Regions from separate parts of the Homo sapiens genome. Here all the other regions are linked to region 1. The links are contacts of gene promoters, found by promoter capture Hi-C in blood cells and fetal thymus (Javierre and others, 2016). All regions are on one chromosome and are shown on one strand. Each heading gives the region's core, a stretch centred on a gene start or on the middle of the fragment in contact. The rest is flanking DNA. Distances are from core to core; before and after follow the strand shown. Region 1 holds the start of CD1A (CD1a molecule). Region 2 has its middle 29 kb from the start of OR10R2. Region 3 overlaps LOC107985213 (a long non-coding RNA gene). Region 4 has its middle 11 kb from the start of OR10K2. Region 5 overlaps OR10K2 (olfactory receptor family 10 subfamily K member 2).

Region 1 (2,515 bases), core at 11-2,510:
AGAGACTGCTGAAGAGAATGAATGAGAAAGTGAGAAAGCTGAAGGTATCTGGTTGTAGGGCAGGCAGAAGGGTGGTCCTGGGATACCTGTAAGAAAAGATAATAATGCACAACCCTGCAATCAATGAGAGAGGAGTTCATAAGTAGCAGAAGTGTTTGGAGAATTAAGGTCTGGATGATAGCCCTTGCCCAAAAGTATGCAATTGCAGTTTTATGGTGGAAAGAATAGAATAAGATACAGAAGAGAGTCAGGCTGTTTCCTAAAGGAATAAGAAACATTGAGACAACCCCTCTCTCCCACCTCACCACTCTCCATGGAGAAAACTGAACTCACATTCAAACTGCAATTCATGGGCGTATCTACGAATTCCCTCAAATGACCGAATGGTGCGTATACGGAATAATGTTTCCAGTTCCTTCCACTCCTCATTGCTGAAGTTTCCCCTGGACCAGGGGCACAGGAAAACGATGGTGCTGGAATTGCTGTCCCAGGTATGAGTCTGCAAATCACTCAGCCAACCTGAGACCAGATTTTGTTTCCAGGAATGGTTGTAAAAGGATGCGATCCAGGTGACATGGAAGGAGAGAGGCTCCTTGAGCCCTGCGACAAAAGAACAGATAGAATGGGGAGAAAGACATTGAGAAAGAGGATGGAGAGAGAAAGGTGCCAGAGTGCGGGAACTCAGAATCTGGAGAAAAGGGGATCCATCATGATCTTAGCAGACATTCACTTGCCACACAGTCCCATGCCTTATCAACCACCTTCATAAGAGCTCAGGGACCTGGAGTCATGGATAGTCAGAATGGAACCAGCCTGGCACTCTCACTTTCCAGGTATATGCTAGGGAAACCACACACACACACACACACACACACACACACACACACACACACACACAGAGAGAGAGAGAGAGACCTTCACCCACCACCCAACTGGGCAGTTGTCAGAGTTCTTACCGTCTGCATTGCCATCACCTGGGAGAACAGCTAACAATGGAAGTAGCAAAAACAGCATATCATTTGCAGATGTTATTTCCTTCTCTCAGAAAAATTGGTCTTTGATTTCTGTTCCAAACAAACCTACCCCACGATATCTCTATTCTGACTTCTTTCTGCAGCCAACAGACAAACCTCCCCTGACTGCAACAAAGAAAATCCACTCCTTCAAAAACCCTGAGATGCCTACTCAGTCTCTCATTTCCCTCTGGTTCTGACTCTCCTCTCTGTTCCAGCTTCTCTCCTTGTCACCAACCTCCAACTTATTCACCTTCCCCTAATTCAACTGCTATGGAACAAGTCTGATGTGGCATTGAAAAGCCACTTAACCACTAAGGACATTTTTTTCTCAATCATACAATAAGAGCATAAAGTGAAATGGCTCCCAGTGTGCTGCCCAATGCTCCCATGTCCCTGCTCTTTTTGATCACTCTGTCCTTTTCAATATTTTCCCATGTATTCTCTTCCCCTGTCTCTTCAGCCCCTTACTACATTCACATTTCTGATTTAACATTGATTTATTTGCTTTTTCAGAGTCTCCTACGACTGCCCTGTGCGACAGTACAAACTAACACCTTTTCTCCATTATTCTTAGAGAAGAGCCAGTAACCATCACAAAAAAAAAAAAAAAAAAAAAAAAAAAAAAAAAAAAAAAAACCACAGGAACACTAAAACATATAAAGAAAATTTCCTCTGTTTGATTTTCATTGATATACATTCACTCACCCAACAGTCTCTCTTAGCACCTGCCTGGAGTCAAGCATCTTGGTACACTTAAGAATATGCAGTGGTTGACAACACAATCACTTTACTGAAGGAGCTTTTTCTCTACTTAGGGAGAAAAACACGCCATGAAATATAAATCTTGGTGTACTGAGTTTTATTATACTGTATACACTCTCTGGATAAAAACAAGGCCTGCTTGAAATAATATTTTCTAAAATGGGGGCTCCTAACTAATGTACGCCAGCCCAGAATTTTGACTTCAATGTTTGACTTGGAGTGTTAGTTCCATACAGTTATCATACTGTATCCCCACCTAACAGAGTATCTCACAAGTGGTAGGTGCTTAGTGAATATTTGTCAAATGAATGAATGAATTCAGTCTATGCATCCATTTTTTAATTATGGAGGTGATATTCAACATGAAACTTTTTAAAGATATCATAAAAGTTACTTGTAACCCTATGTAGTGAGATGAGAATCTCATACAGTTTTATTTAGGATAAAAGTACAAGTTACTGGCATGAGATTTACATAAAAGATCCTGCTATAAATGTCCTATTACTTATAAGAAACTAGTCAGAACTTGTGAGCAGTGAAGTTAATGGAGTATTCCAAAGTCTTTATCCCAGGATCCCTTTTTATTAGTCCTATTTGGATGTTTCAGGGTTGTTTTGTTATAAATGAGTCTTTGCCGGACACATTTACATTCCTCTTTTACGCTGCTTGTAACTGTTGAAGGGCTTCTAAATATATGTTTGTGCTTTGTAGATATCATCCATATAAATGTGTCTGGG
Region 2 (2,515 bases), core at 6-2,505, 250 kb before region 1:
AAAAAGCTCTTGAGGGGAGAAGAATTCAAGCAGGTTGTGGAACAACCACTTTACTAAAGAAATTTGCATACTTAAGTGGGTCAGGCGTGGTGGCTCACGCCTGTAATCCCAGCACTTTGGGAGGCTGAGGTGGACGGATCACAAGGTCAGTAGATCGAGACTGTCCTGGCTAACATGGTGAAACCCCATCTCTACTAAAAATACAAAAAAAAAATTAGCTGGGTGCGGTGGTGGGCGCCTGTAGTCCCAGCTACTCTGGCTGAGGCGGGAGAATGGCGTGAACCTGGGAGGCATAGCTTGCAGTGAGCCGAGATCATGCCACTGCACTCCAGCCTGGGTGACAGAGCAAGACTCCATCTCAAAAAAAAAAAAAAAAAAAGAAAAAAAAAGAAATTTGCATACCTATGAAGGAGCCAAGTGCTGATAGTCAAGACAATGGGGGAAAAGCCTTGAAGGCATCTCAGAGACCTCTGTGGCAGCCCCTTCCATTAAAGGCCCAGAATCCCTACTGCCACACACACAGCTTCATGACACTGCTCCCTGCATCCTGCTGCTCCAGCTTCAACTGGGGCTCAAAGGGGCCCAGGTACTGCTCAACATGCTACTTTGGAGAGTTCAAGCCACTGTAAGCCTTGGCAATTTGCACATGATTTTAAGCCTGTAGGCACACAGAGTTCAGAGTGAATGAGAATTTGCACCATCTGCCTAGATTTCAGAGGACATATGGAAAAGCCTGAGTGCCCAGACAGAGGCCTGCTGCAGGGGTGGGGAACCCCACAGGGAACCTCTACTATGGCAATGCAGAGGGGAAATGTGGGTTTGCCCCCCGCCCCAGAGTTCCCACTGGGGCACTGCCTAGTGGAGCTGTGAGAAGGGGACCGCCATCCTCCAGACCCCAGAAAGGAAGATCCACTGTCAGCTTGCCCTCTGCACCTGGAAAAGCCAAGAACACTCAACACCAACCCGTGGAAACAGCCATGGGTATTCAACCCTGCAAAGCCATAGGGATACAGCTGCCCTAAGCCTTGAGAGCCATGACTGACACCTCTCTGAGGAGCTTGCAGCAGTGTGACCTGGATGTAGAATATGGAGTCAAAGGATATTATTTTGGAGCTTTAAGATTTAATGACTGCCCTCCTGGCTTTAGGACTTGCTTGGGGCCTATAGCCCCTATTTTTTTGGCCAATTTCTTTCTTTTAGGATAGCAACGTTTACCCAATACCTGTATCCCTATTGTATCTTGGAAGTAAATAACTTGGTTTTGATTTTATAGGTTCATGAATGAAAGGGACTTTCCTTGTCAAAGATGAGACTCTGGACTTCGGACTTGTGAGTTAACACTGGAACAAGTTAAAACTTTGGAGGACTCTTAGGAAGGCATAAATATATTTTGCAATGTGAGAAGGACATAGATTTGGGAGGAGCCGGAGAAATATTGATATAGTTTGGATATTTGTCCCCACACAAATCTTACGTTGAATTGTAATCACCAGTGCTGAAGGTGGGAGGTGTTTCGGTCATGGGGGTGAACTTCGCATGACTTGGTCTATTTTTATGATAGTGAGTAAGTTCTCACAAGATCTTGCCATTTCAAAATTTGCAGCACCTTCCCCCAACTCTCTCTCTCCTGTTCTGGTCATGTGATGTGCCCGCTCCTGCTTCACCTTCCACCATGATTGAAAGTTCCCTGAGCCTTCACCAGAAGCCAAGTGGATGCCAGCACCATGCTTCCTGTAAATTCTGCAAATCATGAGCCAACAAAACCACTTTTCTTTATAAATTACCCAATCTCAGGTATTTCTTTATAGCAATGCAAGAATGGCATAATATATGATTACAGTTACCAATACCTTTTGATCAGGGGGTGGATTCATGTTAAATGTTCTTATCACACACAAAAAAAGTCAGTGTTGACCTAGTTGAAAAACTAGCTTATTTGTGACTCATGCTATATTAAAAAACAACTACTGAATAAATCAAGAGTGCTATTGTTTTTTCTGAGTGAAATTGTAATTGACCTATGTAACCCTTGTTTCAAATGTCCTTGTTAGAATTTTCAGAAAAATTTTAGTGGAGTATATTTTATAAACATCTCCTGACATTAACATAATTCTAGGGCTCATAGGGATGAATAAATCTAAATTCTGTCAAAATTTTAAAAAGAAAGAAAATTAAGAATGTAATTGCCTTTTAGCTCCAAATCTACCTTTACTTGTCCTGATTGTGTTACTGGAATGTTTCTCCTTTACCAGCAGACATGATGTTAAGCTCTTCTGTAGAAGGCGTGAAGGGACACTGAAGTTAAAACGGAGTTCTCTTCCCATTTCTGGCTGCTTTCATCTGCCTGGACATGCTGTGTGTGTGAAGTCTAGTAACAAGTAGGACGCCCAGTAGTGCTACTTCCCAGGCAGTACCATCATCAAAGGTATTTTGCCAGAAGGTTGCAAACAGAAGCATCCTCCCATAGATGCCCCCCACCCACAGAGTACTTCAGAGAGTGGTTTTCCAGCAAGTT
Region 3 (2,515 bases), core at 10-2,509, 230 kb before region 1:
GCTGTCCCCACTGAGCCCTGCCAAAATTGCAGACTTGTGTGCAAAATAATTACAGCTCATTTAAGCAACTAAAGTTGTAGAGAGTTGATTATGCAGCAGTAAATAATGAGAACAGAATTTGGTATCTAAAGGCAGGGTGCTGTTATAATCAACATTTAAAACATTTGGCATTAATTTTGCAATTGGTGGTATAAATAATCCATAAGGACTTAAGGAGTCTCTTACTAAAAGGTGAAAGGATCATAAGGCAACTCTTGGTAAAGCTTTGAAGCACAGAGAGAAAAATATTTGAAGGACAGAGAGGAAACTGTTATCATACTTAGGTAAAACATGGATACTTATTATCCATTGCTCTAAAGTTTGGCAGCAGGACCACATGCTACAGCCTGGAAAATAGACTATTTAGTAATCTCATTATCTTCCTGGGTAAATTTCTAGGAAGACTATAGAAAATTCCAACCAATGATAAAATATGAAAAGAGAGTAGACAGCAGGATACTAGAGGAAGGGAATAGTAGAGAAAAGGGAAGGATAGGTGGAGATTTGCTAAAGGATACAAAATTACAGCTAGATAAAGGAATAAGTTACAGTGTTCTTTGCTACTGTAGGATGACTATAGTTAACAGTAATGTATAGATTCAAATTGCCAGAAGGAGGGTGTTGAACATTCCCAACATGAAGAAATGATAAATGTTTGAGATGATGATATGCTAATTACCTTGATCTGATCCCTATAACATTATTTATATCAGAATATTACTATGCACCTAAGGAATATGAACAATGACTATTTGTCAATTTAAAAGTACATAATTTTTTAAAGTTTCTTAAGTTTCTGAGAATTTAGAGGAAACAGAAAGAAACAAAACTTGTTGGGTTTGCAAATAAAGATGTTTCTCATGCACAGTCTCTCTCAACAAAGACTCTCAAGGTACAAAATGGCTTCAAGGAAGAAATCAAATCCAAGGTGCTATCAGGAAACCAATGCCTCAGGGTAAACCTCTTAAGAATGTAGCTGTAATACTTTTTGTTAGAACTCAGAAATATTTTAGGCTATACCCAACAAGATTTATAAATATCCTAAGGGCCTGACTCCTTAAAGTTAAGCAATAAGTCTTTTTAAGAATCTTAAGGGAATTGCCATACAGCAGTTATTAATACTGCTACCTCACAAGTGACCCATAATAAAGAAATGAATATGGATGTGACTTTTATCTAATGGAATTAATTTATAAACTGAAACATAAGAAACTCACCAAGTTTTAAAAAGGCATTCTATCAACATGTGCTAAAGGCTACAGAGCAAACAGAAATGAATAGACCTTTGGACCCTCAACTTCTTCCATGGAGGTATCAGACTAAGAAATGACATGTCTGCAAATTGTAGCTATGTCTTGCAGATAAAAAAGGATGATCAGAAAGTGGGGAAATGGCATCACAGGTTAGATCTAAGAGTCATGGAATTCATTCCCAGAAAATAGGACTGGCAACAGTGTCCAGATGAATTTCAGAATTTCTATGGACCAATGACTGTGATGTGTCTAATTTCCTCCTTTTTCACAAGGGAATGTCCATTGCTATTCCTATGCCCATCACATCATTGTCTTTTTGGGTGTCAGGAGCAGACAACCTGCTGGTATTATGCCTTAAAAGACTAGCAGCTTCCTCTTTCTGTTTCTTGGAATGTTTAGTCTTTGAAACCAGTCATGATGTTGTGAGAAAGTTTATAGAACCCCATGAAAAGGGCCACATGGAGAGATACTGACTCTCACAACCTATAGCCCTGACTCAGCTCCACTACAAATCAGCATCATTTTGCCAGCCGTGTAAATGAGCCAAATGGAAGTGGGTCCCTCAATTCTAGTTGAGCAGCTCAGTTGACATTGTATGGAGTTAAGACAAGCCAATCTTATAAGCCCTCTCCCATTTAAGAGATTAATGAGCAAAATAAATTATCATTGTCATTGTTATTTTTAATTACTGTTATGGGGGACATAAATATTGCTACACTTTCACATGTAGTTTCAGATGTTTTTCTTAGCTAGACCAAGAAGTCATTTATTCAATTAAAGTTAAGAGACATGTATTAGTTATCTCCTGAATGTCAGGGATATAAAAGACATTTAGGAGGAGTTAATGTATCGGTATAATAAATTACTTCCTTTCACGTTGTTGATTGTCCATTAGAGAAAATAAGATATGTACATAATCAGCTCAATATGTCAGAGCTCAGTAAGAAGTATAAGTAAAGCTTACAATGCTATGGTGTTTTGAAGAATGGAAATCAGGTAATACTTCATGAAACAGGTGAAAATAAAAAAAACTTTGATGGTAGACATTGGACAAAGAAGGAGATAATCTTTTCAAATAAGACCTTTTTTGATTCTTAGGCCGGTACAGGACCATTCTCCATAGGATCCCACTTTATAAGCTGTAAGTAAAGAAATGTGGTGCACAGAATGGCAAATTTATGTTTATCTTCTACTGCCTTTTTAATTAATGATGGCTATAGTAT
Region 4 (2,515 bases), core at 7-2,506, 180 kb before region 1:
TGTTACCTCACGCCTGTTAGAATGGCTATTGTCAAAAAATCAAAAGATAACAAGTGTTGGAAAGAATGCAAAAAAAAGGGAACCCCTGTATATTGTTAGTGGCAAAGTAAATTGGTATAGCCATTAAAGAAAACAGTATAGAATGTCCTCAAAAAATTAAAAATAAAACCACCATATGATGTAGCAGTACCACTTCTGAGTATATATCCAATGAAAATAAAATCACTATCTCAAAGAGAGATCGGAATTCCCATGTTCATTGCAACATTATTTACAATAGTTAAGATATGAAACAATGAAATGTCCTTCAATAGACAAAGGGCTAAAGTAGATGTGGTATATACTTTTATACAATAGAATACCATTCAGCCTTTAAAAAGAAGGAAATTCTGCCATTTACAACAACGTGGATGAACCTAGAGGACATTTTGCTAAGTACAATAAATCAAGCAAAGAAAGATAAATACTGCATGATCTAACTTATATGTGGAATCTAAAATATTCAAACTTATAAGAGCAGAGTAGAAGGGTGGTTGCTAGAGGCAAGGAGGTGGGGGAAATGAGAACATTTTGGTCAAAAGTTACGAACTTTCAGTTATAAGATACATAAGCTTTAGATATTTTAATGTACAGAATGTTGACTACGGTCAATAATGTATTTTATACTTGAAAAGTTGTTGACAGTAAGTATTCTCACCACACACACATGAAAAAAAGGTAACTATGTGAGGTGACAGGTATATTGATTAGTTTGATTGTACCAATTATTGAAAAATGTATTTGTATATCAAAACTTCACATTGGATATGAAATATATATATATATAATTTCTGTCAATTGTACCTTAATAAATACATAAACAGTACAGAGATACAAAAACAAAATTACATGAGAATAGGCAGATAAATATAAGAATTAAAAATGAAATGTATTTACATGATTGCCTTATACAAAGCTGGTAATACAAAAATAAATTCTATTTCTGTATGTCAGCAGAAAGAATTACTATGCCTAGGAATACGAAATATGAAAATACAAGAAGTCAAAGAGTACAGAAGTAATCTTTTGTTTAAAAAGTCAAAGAGAACAAAAGTCTAAGTCAAATACCACATGTTCTTACTTATAAGTGACAGCTAAACAATAGGTAAACATGTTCATCAAAAGACATCTTCAACTGAGTGAAAATGAAATTTACAAAGTCACACAAAATATTTGAAGTACATGTAATCAATAAAGTATTGATATCATATAAAATATTTTGGATCAATAATAAAAATGAATATCCCTATAGTGCACAAAATATCAAACAAGACTTTCAAGAAAGAGGAAATTCAGGTGGCTGGTAAACATGAAAATGTGCTCAATGTCACTAATATCATGAAAAGGAAAGTCTAATTACACATACTCATCAGAATTTCTCAAATAAAAATGAGTTGCAATAGCAAATGTTACAGATGAGAAGCAACTGGAATTTCCATACAATGCTGGCATGAGTGTAAATTTATACAGCCACTTTGAAAAACTATTTGGCAGAGAATAGTATACTAGAACATGTATATACTTTTATTTACCTTTTGCTGTGTAACACACCACTTCCAAACACAAGTTAAAGTCCTTGCTTGCCTTTTTGTGGCTGTTCTATTTCACTTAGGAAAAGAGAAGTTGTTTAATAGGTGCAGAGTTTCTGATTTGCAAGATGAACAAGTTCTGGAGATCTATTTTACAGTAATAGGAATATACTTGACACTACTGAACTTTACACTTAAAATGGTTGAGTTGGTGAATTTTACGTTATTTGGTTTTTAACCACATTTTTAAATTTTTTTTATTTGCTTTTGTGTCTGCAAGTCAATTTAGAGATCTAAGCTGGGCTTAGAATAGCGGCTCTCCTTCAAGCTTCATGTCACTTGGGTTTGACTCCTTTTGGTAGATTGGGGTTAGATTTGCATCAGATATATTCATCCTAGAGCTCAGGTTAAAAGAACAGAAGCTACTTGGGAAAAAACTCTTTTCATGGTGATGGCAGAAAACTTGCAATGTTTCTTTTGGCCAAGGTTTGAAACTGGCTATGACTTCTGCCCACATTTCATTGGTTAATATAAATCCCATAAAAGCCCAAAGTTTAGGGTTAGGAAGTTACATTCTGCCTCTCATAAGAGAAACTGCAAAGTCATATAGCAAATGACATAGAAAGGAATAAAGAATTGTGGCTAAAAATTTAATCTACAGCAATATGCTGTGACTCAGTGGTTTCACTGTTAGTGGATACCAAATAAATTGAGTGATATGTTACTTAAAGCGTACAAGTATGTTCCCAGCACTGCTTTCCACTATAGCCCAAACCTGGAAATAACCTAAATATCCATCAATGGTAGAACAAATAAATTGAAGTACACTCATATAATTTATTTTTGTGCAACAGTGAAATTTTACTATTATATTTACTAATATGGGTAAATCTCACAAACATTATTTAAGTGAAAGAAAACTAAACAAAAATCTTATATACTCTGTA
Region 5 (2,515 bases), core at 8-2,507, 160 kb before region 1:
TTCTAATTTTGTATGCAGAGGCATACATCTAAATTTGGTCAGCATACCCTGAAGATATTCACAGGGGAATGGATTAATGACAAGACCTAAAATCACCCTAAATGACCAGGCAAGGCAAGCTAAAGATTAAGTCAATTTCACTAAATATTCACCAAGTGGAAAGCTTTGCATATGGAACAATCAATCTGTTCTCCATGCAACTCAAGAGTTTGCATGTACATTTGAGACCAGAACTTGAATTTGATGTTTTCATTCTCTGTCCTTTCTGCAGGAGTGATAGCAAAAAGGAAGTTTCACAATAGTGATGATTTCTCACATTATAACTCTTTTCAAGATCCACCTGTCAATAAAAGTCTCCTGATTGATTAATTTTGTTTCTAAGTTTTTTCCTTTTCTTCCACCAGTCTGTTCATCAATGACATATACCTTTTAGGGGTTGAAGCGGGAGGGAAGGAAGTGGAATGTTTTGTTCACAGGCCCTGTTTATTGTAGGACATCTGCCAAGAATGTAAGTCAATTGCATTTCTTCCATTTCTTTGAAGCTTGAAACTTGCTGCTGATGGGGGTTGAAAATCAGAGATTGATGCAAAATTAATTTCAGTGGCCCCCAAGTTGTCTTTTCCTTGGCCATATTGCCCACCCCAGGCCTCTAGCATATCAAGTTGATTCATGAAAAGTAAATGAGCTAAGTTTAATGTGTTAATTATTTATAGCTGCATTGTGTGCTACAGTTTAACAATGTTACTTCATCTAAACTTTAGAGCACACTGGGAAGTATATATTATAATCGACATTTTGTAGATGAGAAAAATGACACTCAGACAAATAAAATGACTTGCCTACTAATGAGTAAAAGAATTAATACTGAGTCCACACGATATATTTTCTTTATTAATGCTTTTATAATGCTCTCACATGACCTCTTGAAAAGACTGTGATTTTTTTAATTAATGGAGTAGAATGTGTAAGTATTCACCTTTAACAATAGAAGATTAAGCCATGGGTCATCTGTGGGAAGATATACTCTTGATGTTAAATAGTCTTTTAAACCTTGTTTCTTTCCAAGAGCTGTGGATACTATTATTTTGGTGTCTGACACCACAACACTGACAAGTGGGCAGGACCACTTTGTGTTAAAAGGTCATGAATATAAAAAATGACTCTCCTGGCATTTTATCCTTCCTCTTATTTTTTCCATGTGAATGAAAAATTAAGTTGACATTGGCCTGCACTCCCATGTGTTAAAACTGAACATCTTGCTCTCTCTGTTCCTCTTTTCACACATGTGCATACACACATATCTCTATTGTCCAGTCATATGTAATTTGCAGGAGAGGGGTAAGATTTTTAGATTTGTAGTTGGCCTTAGCAAGAGAGTAAAGTCCCTTAGGCCTTCTAACTAGGCCACATATGCCTGTTTAGCTTACAGAGAAATCTGCACTTGAATTTTAAGCATAAACTCAACCAATAATAATAAATTGATGTTTTGAATTCCCATTCATCATAGTCTATTATGTATATATGTTTTTGAATACATTATAGGGAAAAGAAAAGGTTATACCAAGTTAGGATTATGGAATTTCTGTTACCTTGGCCACAAAAAATTATAATAGCACTAAAACTAGATTTGTAGCCTATGAGGCTGGCTTTGGACTGATTTTCTAAGACATCCTTTAACATTGAACAGATCGATGACAATTGAAATCATAAGACAGCTCTCACCAAGTGCCAGGACAAGTACACATTTACACTAACAGAAGGCAACCCACATAATAGCTGTTTTCAGTGCCCCATATAAACCAATATCCAACCCCTCAGGTAAATTTTTATTTTCAAAAAAACATTTAGCGAAGAATCACATTCCACTCCAACTATCACCTTTAGATATCTCTTCCCAAATCTCTCCCCTAGATTGCCAGCCTCCTACTCCTTCAATTGATCCTACTTTCTCTTCCTCAAACCAAAAGCTTTTTTTAAAATAGATTCAACAGGCACATGTGCAGGTTTGTTATATAGATATATTGTGTGATGCTGAGGTTTGGGCTTCTAGTGTACTCATCACCCAAACAGTGAACATTGTACCCGATAGATAATTTTTCAGCACTAACCTCCCTCTCACCCTCCCTCATTTGGGGTCCTCAGTGTCTGCCATTTCCATCTTTATGTCCATGCGTACCCACTGTTTAGCTCCCACTTGTGAGAACATGTGCCAATCCTGAATCTCTACCAGAGTACCACTTCCGTTACTCACTCCATCTTATGCTGAGCATTCCGTTTCTCCCACATATCATGGAAGTCTAAAGTGCTTACCCACACTCAATATTCAATGTTATATTCTGTTATGTCCGAGGCTCTAACTCTCAAGGGTAAGCCAATAAAACAAAAGTAATGGCAATTATTTCAAACAGAACTGGTTTAATATAGGGAATTGCTTACACGAATGTGAAAATTTGTAAAAGCAAAAAGGGATGCTAGGGCAACACATTTGTATAATTAAGGAAAATGGCTACTCTGC

The links. Contacts are between HindIII fragments. The CHiCAGO score rates a contact against its expected background, and 5 or more counts as called.
Region 2: a contact is called between a fragment that was not itself captured here and the fragment with the promoter of CD1A in region 1, in 1 of 17 cell types (fetal thymus). The highest score is 10.7, in fetal thymus.
Region 3: a fragment that was not itself captured here is called in contact with the fragment with the promoter of CD1A in region 1 in 2 of 17 cell types (fetal thymus and M2 macrophages); the score reaches 17.7 in fetal thymus.
Region 4: a fragment that was not itself captured here is called in contact with the fragment with the promoter of CD1A in region 1 in 1 of 17 cell types (fetal thymus); the score reaches 5.7 in fetal thymus.
Region 5: a fragment that was not itself captured here is called in contact with the fragment with the promoter of CD1A in region 1 in 1 of 17 cell types (fetal thymus); the score reaches 5.3 in fetal thymus.

Annotation. Positions count from the first base shown.
Region 1 is chr1:158,253,169-158,255,683 of GRCh38, reverse strand. CD1A (CD1a molecule) reads right to left here and starts at 1,260. Exons shown (of 6, transcript NM_001763.3): 1 at 957-1,260; 2 at 334-600. The coding sequence starts at 1,014. The HindIII fragment of the contact is 5,152 bases long and covers 1-2,515 here.
Region 2 is chr1:158,499,766-158,502,280 of GRCh38, reverse strand. No RefSeq gene overlaps it. Among named protein-coding and RNA genes, the nearest start is that of OR10R2, 29 kb to the right of the region's middle. The HindIII fragment of the contact is 6,418 bases long and covers 1-2,515 here.
Region 3 is chr1:158,483,051-158,485,565 of GRCh38, reverse strand. The region is part of intron 2 of LOC107985213 (a long non-coding RNA gene); the gene reads left to right. Among named protein-coding and RNA genes, the nearest start is that of OR10R2, 12 kb to the right of the region's middle. The HindIII fragment of the contact is 1,988 bases long and covers 266-2,253 here.
Region 4 is chr1:158,436,051-158,438,565 of GRCh38, reverse strand. No RefSeq gene overlaps it. Among named protein-coding and RNA genes, the nearest start is that of OR10K2, 11 kb to the right of the region's middle. The HindIII fragment of the contact is 1,285 bases long and covers 614-1,898 here.
Region 5 is chr1:158,416,545-158,419,059 of GRCh38, reverse strand. It overlaps OR10K2 (olfactory receptor family 10 subfamily K member 2), which reads left to right. Exons shown (of 2, transcript NM_001004476.2): 2 at 1-850. Among named protein-coding and RNA genes, the nearest start is that of OR10K2, 8.4 kb to the left of the region's middle. The HindIII fragment of the contact is 1,425 bases long and covers 545-1,969 here.